Regions from separate parts of the Homo sapiens genome. Here region 2 is linked to region 1. The links are contacts of gene promoters, found by promoter capture Hi-C in blood cells and fetal thymus (Javierre and others, 2016). All regions are on one chromosome and are shown on one strand. The core of a region is centred on a gene start or on the middle of the fragment in contact, and the rest is flanking DNA. Distances in the headings are between cores, read along the strand shown. Region 1 holds the start of TBL1X (transducin beta like 1 X-linked). Region 2 overlaps PUDP (pseudouridine 5'-phosphatase).

Region 1 (5,672 bases), core at 1,158-3,657:
GCAGTGGGAGGATGGTCCTGCCTCGCTGGGCAGAGAAGCTGTGCTGATCAGCTAAGCCAGGAGGCCCACAGGGCACTGCTGCGGGGCAGAGCACCGGAATCTGGACGCCCTGCAGAAAACTGGGAGGGGGCCGGACCCAGGTTCTAGCGGAGGTGTGCTCCTATCCAGCAGGAGTAGATCGGATAATCTGAATTCCTGACCCTCGGGACCTGCTGGAGATGGCCTCCCTCTGCAGGGACCATTTTCCCGCCTCTGTTCGTCACCTTAAAAGGTGAAAAAAAATCTTCTAACTAAGATGATGTTGTACAGAACCAGTGGTACTGATATAATTGATGGGAAAACTCCAGAAATTGAAACATTCACTTCTAAGTATGTCTACAATAAAGTTATTTTTGCAAACTGTTTCCTCTTTAAAACCACTGACAGAGAGAAGTTCTCTGAGGTAAAGGGGCAAAATGCCTGAGAGTTGGGGAGCGAGGGTGGCAGCACTACACCACAAATCTCCATATTTGCCCTACAGGTGTGTGTTCTACTAAGGGCTGGAATCGCCTTAAGGGCCGGTGATCCAGTGATGAACAACTTTTGTTGTTTGCATTAGTTACCCAGCTTGGTGGCTTTCCACAAAAATGTGCAGCACATTTGAGACAGGACTACCCTTTAAAATAAACGCGTCATACTCAACGTTCTTCTGTATTTTATTTTTCCTAATTACATCTTTTCTAGGAAGGACTTGTAAACTTTTCATAAAATCGTCAAGTGCCACTTCCAACACCAAAGCCACTGCCTGGAACCTTAGCAGGGAGGTTGCCTTCCTTCCCCCTCGCCTTCCAGGTTAAACCAGGGACTGGGCGATGTTTCAGGAGAGGAAAACATCCAAAAGGCAGGTCAAACCACACATGACAATGCAAAGCAGAAACAGTTGCAAATACAATAGAGGGTAGGTTTTTGTTTCTTTTTAGGTTTTGCTCCAGAACATCACTGACTCGAGAATAAACGTCAGTCCCTACCTTTGTGGAACGTCCAACGCAGCTGGCTGGGGGAACACGAGGCCTTGCAGGGAGCGAGCCCCGGCCCCGGTCTGACGGAACACAGGCGACGCACGTGAAGTCCAGGCCCTATCCCAGCGCAGGCGGGCCTCCAGCGACCCACAGTTGTCACATATCCGGCCAGCGCCGACTCCCGAAGGCGCACTCCCCATACTCCACTCCGAGCACCGGTCCCATCGTTAGGGAAGGTCCCCCTGGATAGCAAGGCCGGGGCCCAGGATCTGCGAGACCCACCCCACCCGCCCCGTCAGAGCCCAGGAGCAGCAACAGGTCTGCGCTCTCCCCGGGCGGCGCTCTGCAGACCCTCGACGGGCCAAGGGTGCCCCCAGCCCAGCCGTGCGCTCAGGCCGGGGAGATGGGCGGAGGACTGGGGCTCCCGACTTCCTTGACAGTTTCTGCGCGTCAGAAACTGAGCAGACACGGGGCCCGCGCCACCTCGCCCGCCGCTTGCCCCACTCCGCGAGGCTGCGCTTCCACCCGGGTCCGGGAGGGCCGGCCCGCGTCCCGGGTATGAATGGGGCTCTTCTCCCCAACAGCGGGGAAATCCCGCCACCGCCCTCCACCCCGGTCCCCGGAGCCCGCGGTGGCGCAGGTTTGCCCAGCAAGCCCCTGAATCGGCAGACAAAGGGGCACCGGAGGAAAAGCCGAGCGCTTCCCTAAACTTACCGGCCACTTCCCCCTCCCCAAAACAAAGGAGCCCCCCGCCGACCTCCGTCTCTCCCCGCAAGGCGCGCCGGCACTTCGGGGAGCGGCCACCTCGGGGTATTGTTCAGGCTCCTGGGAGCGCGCCGCACCCCAGTCCGAGCGCCGCGGGGACAGTTGGCGACCTGCACCTACAGGAGTTCCAGGGGCGGGTGGAGCGTTCGGGCGCCCCGAGCCGCCGGCCGGACCCTGGAGGGTCAGCGCGGGACCCGCCTCCCCGCAGAAGTTTGCGGACCCCGCGCCCGGCCCGCCGAGCCCTGCGCACTCACCTCGTCGCGAGCAGCGCAACTTGTGGCGGCGCCGCGCGCCCGGCCGCGCTCCGAACCTCCCTCCAGCCGGCAGCCTCCGAGTCCCGGCCGTGCGGCGGCCGAAGAGGGCCCGGCGCCCCGGAGCAGCCGCGCGCCGCCCCCGGGCCGCCCCCGCCCCGCCGCCGCCGAGTCCCGGAGAGAGCGCGGGCGCTGGAAAGTTTCGGTGGCGAATGGCGGCCTGAGGGCGCTGCGGCGGCGGCGGGGCGGGGGCGCTGGCGGCTCCTCGCTCCCAAGCGCGGAGTGGGGGCGCTGAGGCGGGCGCGGCGGCGGCGGCGGCGGCAGCGGGAGAGGGCGGGACAGCGGGAGGGACTGGCACGGACAGTGACCTCCACGGGGAGCTGCCGCGAGCGCGCGGACCCCAGCCAGGAGGACCGCCAGGGGTCCGCCCCCGCCGCCGGCCCCTCCCTCACGGCCGTGGGAGGGGACCCGGCGTACCACCCGGCCCCGCCCCTGCGCCCCGGGGGAGCCGCGTCCCGAACCAGCCCCTCCCCTACGAGGGTAGGGACTCCGGCCCTGCCCCTCCCCCGCGGCTCCTAGTGGGGACCCGCGTCCCAACCCAGCCCCTGTCCCACGGTCGGGGGACCAGCGTCCCTACCAAGCCCGCCCCGCTCCCCCACGCCTAGGGTGGGTGAGGGGAACCCGGGCCTCTCCCTAGTTGCTCTGGTCCCGGTCCCTTCCCCGTGGCCTCCGTGGGACTGAGAGGACCCCAGGGCTACCCCCATCACATCCCAAACCCAGCCTTTCCACGACTGCCTCGAGGGGACGGGAACCTCGGCCACCCCCTCAGTTTCTAGGGGGCAGGGGAACCTCGATCACTGCTAAAGTGTTACCCTCCCCCACCCCAAAAAGGAAGCCACCCGGCTGCCCCAACAGAACCCCCTGCCACCTGCCCGATGGTGAATCTCCCTCAAAATCGGCGTCTTAGAAGACACCCCAGTAGTCTTTACCCCAGCTCAAAAAGTGGGGGTTCCGGCGGAGCCTCGACCTTTGCAAAACACCTCCCAAGAAGAGCCAGAAATGCTTAGGGACAAACTCAGACACACAGGCATAGGCGCCAGGAACTCGGGTGTGGGGGCTGAGGAGGTTGGGGGGACCTGGGCACTCGGGCCTCATCACTCCCACCCCAACCCCCCAGGCATCAGCCCTCTGGCCCTTGCAAAGTGCTTTATGTTGCAATGGCTTACACGGCCTGGCCCCGGTGTACCTAAGTCCCCAGCGCTCCTTCCTCCCCTCCACGTAGGCTACTCCCAACCACTCGCAGCCTTAATTCAGTTAAACAGATCTCCACTCCCCCTCCCCAGCACCTCTGGGGTCAGCCTCGTTGAATATTTTTCAAATATTCTTGCCCCTTCCTTTACTATATAATGAGCTTCGTGCTAAGAGCCCGGTACACTCAGCAATCTAAACTATAACCTCACTTGCTCTTCCTCGAACTCTAGACCATTTGTTGTTCTGGTTGTAGGGGGAGGGGGACCTAAGGTGAGGTTTTTGTTTTTTTGTTTTTGTTTTTGTTTTTCTGAGGAGTCTCGCTCTGTCGCCCAAGCTGGAGTGCAGTGGCGCGCTGTCGGCTCATTGCAACCTCCACCACCCTGGTTCAAGCAATTCCCCTGCCTCAGCCTCCCGAGTAGCTGGGATTACAGGCGCATGCCACCACGCCCAGCTAATTTTTTTTGTATTTTTAGTAGAGACGGGGTTTCACCATATTGGCCAGACTGGTCTGAACTCCTGACCTCAGGCAATCCGCCGGCCTCGGCCTCCCAAAGTGCTGGGATTACAGGCGTGAGCCACCGTGCCCGGCCGGAGGTGAGTTTTTAAGAGGCCGGTCCTCCACCAAAACGGCGGACCTCAAAATTACCCTGCAAAATATTGCTGTAAAACGTCAATGATGCAAAACGACTGTTGCTACACCATCATTAGAGGACATCAATAAAAAAATACACACTTACACAGTCTCCATAATTGTGAATCAGCAGAATAGATTGTGTCTTATTATGTATCAGTTGCCATTCAAGGCCCCCCAGAAGGACATGGTGGGGCCTTCCCTTGAGCCTGCCCTTCGTTGCTCCTGGGCTCCCTGGGCTTGTGCAGACTGATGCTGAGGTATTACATGCAATAGAAAAACGAAGGGTGCAATAGAAAACCCGAACGAGCTCATGATGCAACCCTGCCCTGGCTACACGTGCTTCCCTTCCCCCACCGCCTGCTGGTGGGAGTGCTGCGTTTTTTCCGCCTGTAGGGTCACATTGTGGTTGATTGATTCTCCTTTCGCCTTGCTCAGTCATTCAGATTTGGAAAGTAAATAACAAGTTGACATCATTACAGCTCTGGGCTTTACGCGGACGCAGCCCTCGGCTACCGCACACTCTGGAGTAGCTGCGCAGCCAACCAGCCTCCTAGCTTGCCAGACCTGCTTGTGGTTAGCAGTTGGAAATTCCAAGCTAAACTTGGTTAAAAGGCCTCTTTGTGTGTTTTGATTACTTGGCAGATGCCAGTCTTTTAAAGTATGGGAAAGTGGTGGAAATCCTCACTTTCAAACTGGAGCCCAGTGTGGCCAGGATTTACAGCTGAGCTCCTGTAATTGACAATGCAAAAGAGCTGAGAATTCATCTTGACTGTTTGACAATATCCCCATAATCCCACCACCCTTATTACCCGTAAAGAGTCAATATCTTTTATCATAGACTCACAGGACCCCAAAGGACACTGTAAGACCTAAGACAGGAAGAGAGACCGCCTACATTTATCGTGAAATCACCAAAATTCCTCTTTTTGAAATACTAGATGGACTGTAGGTGGGTGATAATTAGACTGTGTTATTTAATCTGTTTCAACGATTTTTCAAATGTGCAGTCCTATAAGGTGGGAGAAAACAAGGAAATAAAGTAGAGCGGCAAGGAGGTAGTGTATTCTGAGAAAGCTAAAGGATAACAGGGCGAGGGGTCCACAGTGATTTACACAGAAACCCACTGCACTAGCCATGTGCGTGTGTGCGCGTGTGTGTGTTGCAAACACTTATTTTCAGTTATTGACTGGAGGGAGGGGAAAACAAGAATCTGCTTGCAACAAATACTACCAGCATTCCCCATAAACAGTACCCAAAATTTTAATTAAAAGGCAGTAGGAATTCACACAAATATACTTAACTAATCTTTCACAAAGGAGCAAAGGCAATTCATCCTTTTTAACAAGTGGTGCTGGAACAACTGGACACCCATATGCCAAAAAAAAAAAAAAAACTAGGCTTTTTATCTTTCACAAAAATTAACTTAAAATAGAACATACCCCCAAATGTAAAAGGCAAAACTATAAAAACTCTTAGAAGATAACATAGAAAATCTAGATGACCTTGGGTTTGGTAATGACTGTGTAGCTAGAACACCAAAAGCATGATGCGTAAAAGAAAAAAAAATTGGTAAGTTGGGCATCACTAAAATTTGAAAAGTCTACAAAAGACACTGTTAAGAGAATGAGAAGACAAGTCACAGAATGGGAGGAAATATTTGCAAATTCCATATCTGATTAAGGATTGTATTTGAAATATGCAGGCCAGCATAGTGGCTCACACCTGTTGAGGCTGCTGTGAGCTGTGATCTCACCACTGCACTCCAGCCTGGGC
Region 2 (5,464 bases), core at 873-3,372, 2.3 Mb after region 1:
GGCCGGAGCACGTGGGAGCAGTCCCTGGGGTCCACCGGGCGGGCGCGCGGCTCCGCGTCCTCTCCTCAGAGCGAGGCGCGGCGGGACCTCCGCGCTCTCTTTTCGGTTACGCATGCGTGCGACCTTGAGCGGTGCCCAGCCTCAGCTTCCCCGTCTGCAAAGTAGCCTGGAGGATACTTGCCTGCCTGCTCCAAGGTTGCTGCTGTGGGCGCACTTTGATGGTAGCATCCTGCATGGTAGCGGTTCTCTACCTGGCGGTTTTGCAGCCCTGAGGGCATCTGGCAATGGCGATGTCAGGAGACATTTTGGCTGTCACAGCTGGCGAGGAGTGATGGGGTCACTGGCATCTAGTGGAGTCCAGACCAGTGATACTGTTAAACTTCCCGCAGTGCACAGGAGTGCCCTATGCAACCATAAGGAATTATCCCGCGCCGTCAACAGTGTAGAGGCACAGAAGGTCCGTCAAGTGGCCTGGCTGCCTAGGGTGACCAGCACCGGGGACATCACCTGTGGGCTACTTGTAAATGTAGAAGCTGGGGCCCCACCCTACCCCTGCCCAATCAGAATCTGCATTTTAAGCGCGTGAACGTTTGAGAACAGCTGCTCTATCAATCCGAGGCATTAAGAAACCCTTGGCAGTGTACTAAGGTAGTCAGTCTTAGCACATGTGAACTTCACCAGCCAAGAGGAATTCAAGTAGAATTCAAAGAATAAAACCCTGTTTTTAACTCAAGACAGAACTATGCTGAGCTCTACCGAAAGCCTTGACACAGTTAACACTATGACACATAATCACCAGGAGGCTTCATATATCTATAAACATGTCTGCATACTCTTTGTAGACAGCTGACCTGCTTGGTTACGTATATCATTCCTTCATTTCAAAACCCTGCAAGTTAGGAGGAAGTATTTGCATGTCACTAATTAAAAAAAAAAAAAAAAAAAAAACCCTGCAGCTCAGAGAGGTAAAGCTACTTGCCCAAGGTCACACAGCTAATAAGCCAAGCTGAGAAACGATTCTGGATTGATCCAGTTCTAAATATAAATGATGTTGAGCTCATCTTAAATTGTGAATGTGACCTTGTTTCTGCTCATCATATTGCTGGGTAATTCCCTAGCAGTGTTTCCTTTTAAAAAGGCATGCAGAAACCATTCTCTTCATTTTATGAACACAGAGGTGTAAACTGATGAATTCCAAAGGAAAAAAAAAATCCCCGTAGAGGTCACTAATTGGAGCCAACGGTGTATGCAGCTACTAAATTTGAAATGACTCAATTTCAGAAAGCTTGTGGGATACATAGGTATAGTTTGTAGACATGAATTTTCCTACTCCGGTGGTCAAAAAGTTAAATTGTCAAATAAATTTCTTATCCTCTAATAAAGGTCCAGAGAACCTGTTCTGGGAGTCTCATGAATTTTAATACCAAACAAGATGTCTCATTAAAATTAAATTTATTAAACTTCTAAATGAGCTTGGTGCCTAATTCTGATTCTAGATTCACACATAGCCATGCCCTGAAGTGATGAATGTGACTTAAATGGCATTACAAGCATTGACCTCACATTGTTACCCAATCCTCTGATCTAGTCAGATAACCAAGAATTAGTGCTATTTGGAAAAATAAGCCCTGCTTCTTTTTATTCCCCCCCCTCATTTTCTGCCCATTTCCTCCTTTCCTGCCCTACCTCTTCTTTGAGGTGGTAAGGCCTTGCAAAACTTTCTTGGAAATATACCTTTGTTTATCCCATTCTTTCACCAAATGTGTAAATATAAAACACAGCTTTCCAAGATGTGCCACTTTAATTTAATCTACCAGATTATGCCTGCTGTCATTCTTTAGCACCTCACTTCAGTGTATCTGTTGTTTGCATAACAATATACTATCAATTTATAATGAGTTATTTTACAATAGGTCTGTTTTTCGGGAATTTTGAATGCATTTTTCTAGGAAGTTCTGTTTGTCTATGTAGCCCCAATACTTGCATACTTGGGGAAGTAAAATTGAAAACGAATAGTTTCATGGAGGATTGTTAACATTAGAGGAGAAGATTGTTTAATCAGAGGAGAATGAGGAAGTAAATGGAGATTTTAGAGGAAATGTTGACCAGGAAGAAAGCCAGGACACTTTCCCATGCTTTTGACATGCACGATGCTGTTAGTTGTCCTTTAAAAAAAAAAAAAAATACACTTCGGTTTCTGTTTCTCATGACCAAGGTAAGAGTCAGTTATGATTTAGGTAATATTAATAATTTTGGCTCTCAAATGCCATTCAGAGAAAGAGAGTAGGGGAGTGGGATTAGTTAAAAACTGGGATGATTTTGAAATAAGAAGATGACAATTATTAAACAGTATCTCAGCAGCTGGACAGGGAAGATTATTCTGTTTGTAAATAACTGAAATTAGGAACACAAAAGATGGTCCCAATTTCTTTAAAAGAGAAGACAGTTTGTTGTCCAGAGCAGTTCTGTCTCATAGAATTGAGCCAGGTAAAAATTTTGGGGAGCAATTTTTAATAAGTAAAAAGATACAGATGACATTGATTTGGATGATGTATGTTATGTAACCTAATGTATCAAAAATATTATTTAATACAAAGTCAGTATAAGAAAATCTTTGAAGTGTTTGACATTAATTTTGATACTAGGTCCTCAAAATCTGTGTGTGTTTTATACATACAACACATCTTAGTTTGAACTAGCCTCATTTCAGGCACTCTGTAGCCTCATTTGGTGGGTGGCTACTGGCTTGGACAGCATGGGTCTAGGTCTTTGTGGAGCAACCCAAGATGTCTGTTGATAATGGCTATGCTGGGAGGGTCAGGCAGAGGGTGGGTGTTAAGAATATTCAGAATTAGGAGTTTTGGTGTATGTAAAATGTGGTATGTGTAAAATGTGTTTTCTTGGAGTCTAATACAGAATTATTTAAAATCCTTTTAAAATCAAAGGAAAATAAGCTTATTTCCAGTTTCTTAAATATCGTAAAATAATAAGGTAGATCTGCGAAGGGTAATAAGAACATTTGCAGTGTTGACCATAATATACCATATCTTTATAAATCCAGATTGCAGGATTTTAATGAGTGACTTCTACTTCACCTTTAGTAAAATGAAGACCTCTTCTGTGCCTTTTTGCACTCCCGTAGCTTCCTCCTTGCCAAATAATAGCACTTGAGACTATAAGTGCCTGCCTCACTGTCTGGGGCCCAGGAGACCCTAAAAGGTCATGGAGGTAGGGTCTCTGTGGGGATTACCAAGCCCAGTACTGATGGGATTGTGGGCTGCCTGAGACAGTTGACAGTCATGTCCACTGTGTGGCCAAAATTCCACAGACATAGCGTGAGTGTGTTTTGCGCTGTCATTCTTTGTTAACTTCATGTAGGCTGTTTCTTTAGACACCAGAACATCTATATAGCTGATGACAAAAATAGATTTTTCTTACGTAATATTAGCGCATGCCCTAGGTGGATTGTCAGAAGAATCTATGTATGTTGTCATTTGACCCCATGAAATACGTCTGAGGTTTAAAAGTGCAGCTGACAAGCTTTTCAGCCTCAGTCGGTTCTTACTACTTGATGTTATCAAGTCATTCATTCCAAGTGGGATTTCTAAGAGTTTTGGCACATTTCTGAGGAAGGTGGAGCAAAGTGAAGGATCATTCTGCATGCTTCCATAGGTGGTTATTGTTTAACCCCAGAACGTGCAGTGATCCTAGTTGGAATGAGATCGTAATCACAATCTCCCCTCCTTCCATCATTTGTAATGGGTCTTGCTCTGGATGTCAAAGCAACTCTGGTGGTAGGTTCACATTCTTTCTTTGCCCTGTCTTCCCTGGAGGCTGACAGTGTACCCTTGGGTTTTACCCTTGCTAGGTGAAATGTAGGTTCTCTTCCACGTTTGCAAAGGAGATGGCTGAGGGTGGAGGCCAGTGTGAGGGCTTGGGACAGAGATGAACCCTTATCTCAGGGGCCATGATTGGCCTTTCACTACAGGGTGATCAATGAGTAATCTGTTGTTTCTGGAAACTGAAAAGGCTTCTGGAATATAGAAAGCACAAGACACGTGTGTTCCTATTAAGGGTCCGAAGAGATTTAGAGTAAGATGCTATATTGTATGTTGGAGAAACAGCATCAGATTATAGATTTAGCTCCGTTTGGTTCTGTTTTCTAATTGACCTGAACCATGCCAACCTTAAGTTCTTGTAGTAAGTGGTTGGTTGTCCACTGCAGCTGTTTCTGTTTCTAGAATAATTGAGAAGGGGGTAAAACTTAAATTGCAAAATTCTGCAGATAAATAATAAGAGTTTTGTCCAGCTGGCAACACAAATATTCAGCAGATTCTAGGCATGCAGGTGTAAAATATCCTTTTCTTTTTTCTAGCTCTCTCTTTCAAATAAAAGCAATATGGTTTTATTTAGAATCTTTAAGTAAACTGGATACAGGCATGTGTGAGAACTATTGTGGGTTCAGTTCCAGACCATCACAGTAAAGCAAACATCGCAATAAAATTAGTCACATGAAGTTTTTGGTTTCCCAGTACACATAAGGTTAGGTTTATACTATACTGTATTCTATTAGGTGTACAATAGCATTATGTCTAAAAAATGTACATAACCTTAAATACATTTTATTGCTTTAAAAAAAAAAGTGCTAGGGATCATGTCATCCTTCAGTGAGTTGTAATTCTTTTGCTGGTGGAAGGTGTTGTCTTGATATTGACTGTTGACCAGAGTAGTGGTTGCTGAAGGTTGGGGTGGCTGTGGCAATTTTAAAAAATAAAACAGCAATGAAGTTTGCCACATCACTTGATTCTTTCTTTTACAAAAAAATTCTCTTTTGGCGAGGCATGGTGGCTCATGCCTATAATCCCAGCACTTTGGGAGGCAGAGGCAGGCAGATCACTTGAGGTCAGGAGTTCGAGACCAGTCTGGCCAACATGGCAAAACCCCATCTCTACCAAAAATACACACACAAAAATTAGCCAGGCATGATGGTGCACACATGTAGTCCCAGCTACTCAGGAGGCTGAGGCCCGAGAATCACTTGAACCCGGGAGGCTGAGGTTGCAGTGAGCCGAGATCCCACCACTGCACTCCAGCCTGGACGACAGAGTAAGACTCTGTCTCAAAAAAAAAAAAAAAAAAAAATTGGAGTCCTCTCAAACTCTGCTGCTGCTGCTTTACCAACTAAGTTTATGTTAATATAGTGAATCCTTTGTTGTCACTTCAACAATGTTCAACAACATCTTCACCAGAAATAGATTTTTATCTCCAGAAACCACTTTCTTTTCGCGTCCCTAAGAAGCAGTGTCTATTCAGTTCAGGTTTCATCCTGAGATTGCAGCAACTCAGTCAAATCTTCAGGCTTCACTTCTAATTCTAGTTCTCTTGGTATTTCCATCACATTCTGCAGTTACTTCCTCTGCTGAAGTCTTGAACCCCTCAAAGTCATCCATGAGGATTGGAATCA

The links. The method cuts DNA at HindIII sites, captures the fragments that hold promoters and counts their contacts. A CHiCAGO score of 5 or more calls a contact.
Region 2: a fragment that was not itself captured here is called in contact with the fragment with the promoter of TBL1X in region 1 in 1 of 17 cell types (activated CD4 T cells); the score reaches 5.3 in activated CD4 T cells.

What each region holds. Positions count from the first base shown.
Region 1 is chrX:9,461,793-9,467,464 of GRCh38, reverse strand. TBL1X (transducin beta like 1 X-linked) reads right to left here and starts at 2,407. Exons shown (of 18, transcript NM_005647.4): 1 at 2,018-2,407. RefSeq lists silencers at 1,432-1,581, 1,882-2,021, 2,142-2,721 and enhancers at 2,952-3,151, 2,979-3,807, 4,182-4,476. The HindIII fragment of the contact is 11,363 bases long and covers 1-5,672 here.
Region 2 is chrX:7,142,320-7,147,783 of GRCh38, reverse strand. The region is part of intron 1 of PUDP (pseudouridine 5'-phosphatase); the gene reads left to right. STS (steroid sulfatase) reads right to left here and starts at 72. Exons shown (of 11, transcript NM_001320752.2): 1 at 1-72. RefSeq lists a silencer at 1-111. The HindIII fragment of the contact is 1,669 bases long and covers 1,288-2,956 here.